2 separate regions of the Homo sapiens genome follow, and region 1 is linked to region 2. The links are contacts of gene promoters, found by promoter capture Hi-C in human tissues and cell types (Jung and others, 2019). All regions are on one chromosome and are shown on one strand. Each heading gives the region's core, a stretch centred on a gene start or on the middle of the fragment in contact. The rest is flanking DNA. Distances are from core to core; before and after follow the strand shown. Region 1 overlaps HMCN1 (hemicentin 1). Region 2 holds the start of HMCN1 (hemicentin 1).

Region 1 (3,205 bases), core at 623-3,122, 380 kb before region 2:
GTTTTAACAATCTGTTTTCCAGATTTTTAAGTTCAAGAATGCATGCATATTTTATTCTTTTATTCTGGTGCAACAAAGGCCAGGTAAGAATATGCATCAATAAATAATACAATCAATAGATGTGAAATCACTGAGCTTGGTCTTACCTGAGGACAGAATTCTATAGCCATCTCCCCTGGGAAGCAGTCTTATACCATTTTTGGTCCAGTGAATTGAGGGAAATGGAACTCCCGAAGCAGTGCAGGTAATTACTGCTGGGGCATGTTTGGTTACTAGGAAATCTGTAGGCTCATCAGCTATGGAAGGTGGAACTAAAACAACAACAACAACAAAAAGGGAAAAAACTACACATTTCCAGCCCTTAAAGATTTCCAAAGACTTATCATACATCCTCTTTTTGCTCTGAAAGTGAAAGTTAGGTAAGTAGAAAAGGGATTCCTCCTTTTATTTCTGGGTTAATACCTGGGTGATGAAGTAATTTGTACAACAAACCCCCATGACACTAGTTTACCCATATAACGAACCTGCATGTGTACCCCTGAACTTAAAATAAATGTTTAAAAAAAAAAAGAAAAGGGATCCCTTTTGTAAAGTAGTAGAATAACGAAGTGATAGCATTATCATGTTTCAATCCATGTTCCAAGCCAATTCTACCTTGGACAGTGAGATCCACAGTTCTTTTATCATCTCCAGCACCGTTTGTCACAGTACATTCATAGGTTGCAGTGTCATCCACAGAAGGGGAAATAATTACTAGTGAACCTGAAGAAAGGAGCCTAGAAGACACATTTCAAAGCATGAGATACTATATGTAGGTTTTCATAAATTTTCCCAGCTAGTTTAACATGGTACCATGTTGTAAATTGATGAAAACAGTACTCTTCCCTCATGTTAAAATTAACATCATGTCCCTGAGGCCAACTTTATGCATTAGAGTTTATGTTTGTATGGCAGTGGCTTTCTAGAGCCTCAAACTTGATATAATATTTACAGGAAGTAATTGTGGGAAGGATTGTCTGAAGAGGGAATCTTACATTCTCTAAATGCTTATATTATGATCAACCTGGCTCTCCTAGGAGAAATACAGTACAATGAGAACACTGATAACAGCCACTGTTTACTGGGCATCAGATACACTCCAGGCACCATCTTAAATGCTTTGCATAAATTATCTTTAAATTTCACAATAACCTAGCAGGTTGATATTTGTTTATTTCCATTGACAGATGGCTAATGACAAGTCTGTGTGTCTCACCCCTTTATGTACTTTGCATGTCTCCTTAAATGTGTGGCTACCTTGTAGATAATATGGCAATATCTATTTCAAAAAAAGTATATATATATATATTTAGTTTTGAACAAGTGTGTGTATGTGTGTATATATATTCAAAACTAAAATCTAGAACACTTCACATTTTAGGAGGTTTAGTAAATACACATACATGATTTAAAGTAAATCTAAATTAGAATATCTATTTGATTTCACACTGTGCATGATAGAAATGATTTAATAAAAAACATTAATAAAACATATTTGACACACCTTTTAATTCAAAAGCATGGCACATTTTCCATACAGTGTATACTTTCAAGTCACTGAACCTCCCAATGCCAAAAGATTAAAAGGGTGAAAAAGAGACATGATAGAATTTCAACTGCAGCACTCCTAGTTTTATATTTCCTGATGTATTGGAATTGATTTTTGTTAAAGTGGACATAAGAGAGCATTTATTTTTAGCGCTATGGCAAATGTTTGACAGAGTAATAATCTGATAGCTCAGGTGAGATACAAAAAATGATGCTCACCTATAACATCAGAAATTCTTAGTGATTTAAAGTTTAGCCTTTGAAAAATAGATATTGCCATATTATGAGCTATGGTATTAAAGCTTGGAAAAAAGCAAAAAAAAAAAATGGAGAAAATGCTGTTTTTCCTCCCTACACATTCTGCCAATATCTAAATTGTATTTTAAGGTATAAAATTTGACTTTTATTCTACAACTAAAGATCGTATTTATTTTTACAGAATAGTTTTTCTTTTATATAAAATGATGTTTTTATCCTTTGCCTTTATAAAAGTCCAAAAGGTACTAAACAAATAAGGCAGGATATAAATCTAATCCTATATATAATCACTGACATTCATCCACAGGGTTTATGTATGGAAAAGATGACCTATAATTCAGAAAAATATTTTAGGCTGAAAAACTAAGTCCATATTAAGGAAAAAAACCCTCTATATGCTAGCTAATTTGTTATAGTCTATATATTTGCTGACCCCACTGATAGAATTAAAATGTTGATTCATTACAAACTGTTTGTAAATAGTTGGTAGGAGTTTTAAATTATCCTTACCTGTATGAGTTCTGATTTTGATCCACATTAAGAAGATGCCCATTTTTTCTCCAATTGATTGATGGTTTTGGTATCCCAGTAGCCTCACAAGCCAGAGTAGTTTGAACATTTACTATTACAGTCATGTTGGTAGGACCCGGAGCAATAGATGGAGGAACTAAGACAATGTCACCAAATAAGAAGGAAACACAGTCAGCAAATAGCGTGCCATTTGAAATATTTCTGCTGAACTGAAATTAGTCATTATTAACTTGCCTCATAGTTATGAGCAAACAAGACTCTGCAAATTTTAATAGTGCTGTGATGATATTAACTATACTAAGGAGAAAACTTGGGGCTTGCTATTCATACCATAATGTAAATTGCTTAACTAGCCTTCAATGTCAAGATCTTTATGACCTCACTAGTTTAGGCAATCAAAGAGCATTTGACACAGAGACCGGATGTTGTCTATAAACGGATATTTACCATGGACCTGTAAATCTATTCGCCTGCGATCTGTTCCAGCAGCATTGGTGGCCATACACAAATACCGTCCAGTGTCAGTGACATGTGCTGATTGAATATGAAGGAATCCATTTTCCAAGATGGAATATCTACAAGAGAAATCACAAGTGAAGTCTTCTGAATCAGCCTTTTTTGATTGTTCATATTTTGACTGAGGGAAATGTTAAACACTTGGTGAAATCCATTCAGTATTTTTCCTGTTTCAGATGACACATGTTTATGATACCCTTGGTGGAAGAAAAGGCTACGATGCAAAGGTGCATAACAGATGGGCTTGTGATCTTTAATGGATTATAATCATTATGTAGACATAAGCCTTAGGGATTATGCTTTTAAAATACTA
Region 2 (3,105 bases), core at 553-3,052:
TCCGAGAGTTCTATATATCTTTAAATTTCTCCCAGTGCCATTGTTTAATAGTTAAAACCTGCCATATTTAATACCTACCAATAATTTGAACTTATATACTTTTGCTAAATGCACAGGAAGGAATTTCAGATTGCCGATATCACACTCTCGTTGTGAAGAGGTTGTGTCAAGTTCTTCTAGTGAAGGGAGAATTTCAAAAGCAGGAAAAGTGTGGGAGAACAGTGGGGGAGGACTGTTAAGAAATCACTGCTTCATTTCTTCAACTGGGCAGCAACTTGTGCTAATGAAACTCAGGTGGACATTAGACTGCCAGCCCCAGGGTTTCCCTTGCAAGGCTACCCTCAGCTATGGCAATGGGGGCTCCTATAAGCCTCACAGAGAGGTGCTACTTTAAAGAGAAACTGAAAAAAGTAAATAGGATCATATTACAGTGGAGCTGCTGAAACCTACGGCTTTAGGGCAAAAATGAAGTTATTTCACTTCAACTACCTTTAAAAAGCACAGACATTCCGAATTACAAGCAATTCTACCGCAGGAGACATGGATGTAATGTTTATACCCATCTGTGAACCTATCTAATGATGCCCTGGTGCAAAGATGAATAGATTCAGTTAAGAAATGATTGGTTTCTCTCTTTTCTTTTCATGTCTTCAGTTCCACTAGTAGTTACTACTTACAGGCTTCCTTGTGTCTCACACAACAGGTTTTTTCCCCTCTTAAATGAGAGTTACCCTCAGAGTGTGCTTTCAATCTGGATGTTAGCCCCTAGAGCTTCGCTGCTATAAATTCGTGTCCAAGTCTGCCTTCGTAATTAAACATGCTTTAGTTCTAAAATCTAAGTGAGTTAAGTGATTTTGATGTCGTTGCCCAAGATTTTTGGTTTTGTTTTTCGTAACTCCACATTTCCAGGTTTGAGGACCACAGTACAAGTTCCCTAAACAAGCCATCTCCACCAGGGCTGAGACTTAAGTAGGTATCAATGAGCAAACCCAGACGCCAGCAAGTAATTCTTTGTTACAACTATTTTCAGCTGCACATTTTTTTAAAATGGTTTTGAAACTTCCTGACAAACAATTTCATTCACAGCATGAGAAATAATGTAATCATGAGACATAGCAAAGACAAAGTATAAATATTTCCCTTACCTGGATCATGGAAAGGCACCAACGCAAAGTTGAAAAGAGGTCTTTTAGGTCTTTTCAAAGACGTCTCCAAAATTTTGGAAGCCCCTTCAATCACCTGAACTAAATCATCATACATAGAACCAGTCACATCAAACACAAAAGCCAACGTGGAGGCCCCCTCGGGAATTTCCTCAGCTCTGATCTCTGACTGGGGGCTCGCATCTTGAGCTAGGGAAGAATAAAGAAGAGCAAACAGGAATACTGTATGGACAACTTCCCAGGAAATCATTTTCTTTTTTTTCCCCCTCTTTTTCCCCCTCAGCGCCTAAGCACTGTGCTCAGTCCTCCTCAACAACAGGCAGAGGGTTTCCTCTCAGAGTAACTCATCAGACTCTTGGAATCTCTGAACTAGCAAAAAGTTTGGCGCTGAGAATCAGACGGGGACAAGCACCAAACTCGAATCCCTCCAGGGGTTGGGCAGGGCAGGGATGCGGCAGCTTTTGTCTGGATGCGGCTTCCTCCTGGACTGCTATCTGCCCGCGGGCCCTGGACAGCCTGTGGCGGAGTGCGGGCGGCGCGTCGGGTCCATGCCCCGGGGGCAGCTCTGAGCCTGCGGCGCCGCGGCCCGAATCCCGCTGCCCTCGCCGCCGCCGCTGCTCTCCGCCTGGGCCAGCGACTGAGGTTCCCAACTTTCCACTGTTTGCAGCTCACGAGCGACGAGGGGAAGCCTGGCTCGGCCTCGCCTCCTGATTGGCCAGTTGCCGTCCTCCCTCCTTTGCTCTGGAGGCCCCCCCGGAGGGTGACTTTTCCCTCCACTGATTGTAGGGTCAATTCAGTCCCAGGGAAGCGCTTACGGTGTCAGCTCGGTTCCCACCGGCACCGTTCCTAACCTGCAAAACGCTAGTGTAAACAATGGCTTTCAAGAATGTGTGGCAAAGACCCAAACCGAGGGACACCACACTAGCACAAAGGGAATTTTGTTTTTCTATTGTGTACAACGCGGCTTTAGACACCTCTTTCCTAATTCCCCCCAAAAGTCAAGACGCCCCAGCCCAGCCTCCTGCCTCTCAGCCCACAACTCGGCCCAGCCAGGAGGGGGAGCTGGAAAATTCTCTCAGCTGCGAGGCAGCCACACTATCGCTCTTTGATCTCCTCTGAGACTCTGGACTGCAGGGAAGGAAGGGAGGACAACGCTGAAGGGGCAAGAAGCCCAGGAAGAGGAAAGGGGCTGCTGAGGGAAATGAGAGACAAGAACTAGGTAGTCACTAACTGTAGAGGGGAATGTGAATACAGGATGGAAGCCCCGTAGAAAGGACAAGGAGGAGGGGCGAGAGAGGTGTGGGGAAAGATGAGACATAAAATTCATATTAAAGAGAAAATTGATTTTTTAATTGTATTATCAAGATTCACATTTGCTGAGCAGTTTGAATCCTACGCTCAGCATAGTAAGGCAGAATAATATCCCCGTTTCAGATTTCCTCCCCTGGAACAGTCATGCCTCAGGTCTCAGCCAAAGATCTATTGGAAAGGTGCTCCCCTCTATGGCATTTTCTTGCCAGTCAAGAAGGAAACCTCACCCTGGAAGACATGCCAACGTTTTTCCGTGTTGTGATTGCTATATACGTTATAGTACTAATAACAGAGATAAGAGGATAAGCAAAGAAAGTCTACCATGAACTAAGGATTCTTTATGTCATTTTAATAAAAACGCATTTCCTTCCTGGAAAAGGAGTTGTTGTCCAGATCCCAGCATTTAAAGAGGGGCAAACAGGCATCTTGATCTCTGTTTGGATGTATATTAGACCGCCCACCCAACGGAGATGCAGCCTGAGGAAGAGTTAGCTCCCACCAACCTTTTGTAATCTACAACTGTCTTCTCTTTCAGTCCCAGCGGCTGTGGAACCCGAGTTTATGATACCTATAAGTCATGTCACTTAAAGGAAGCAGACAGGCCATTTGGGCTGAGTGGGAATATGAGAGG

The links. Contacts are between HindIII fragments. The study calls those that stand out against the background at their distance.
Region 1: a contact is called between a fragment that was not itself captured here and the fragment with the promoter of HMCN1 in region 2, in 1 of the 25 tissues and cell types used here (mesenchymal stem cells).

Annotation. Positions count from the first base shown.
Region 1 is chr1:186,114,565-186,117,769 of GRCh38, reverse strand. HMCN1 (hemicentin 1) reads right to left here. Exons shown (of 107, transcript NM_031935.3): 74 at 2,824-2,951; 75 at 2,356-2,512; 76 at 655-776; 77 at 147-311. Among named protein-coding and RNA genes, the nearest start is that of PRG4, 180 kb to the left of the region's middle. The HindIII fragment of the contact is 5,610 bases long and covers 1-3,205 here.
Region 2 is chr1:185,733,088-185,736,192 of GRCh38, reverse strand. It overlaps HMCN1 (hemicentin 1), which reads right to left and starts at 1,802. Exons shown (of 107, transcript NM_031935.3): 1 at 1,146-1,802. The coding sequence starts at 1,413. The HindIII fragment of the contact is 9,057 bases long and covers 1-3,105 here.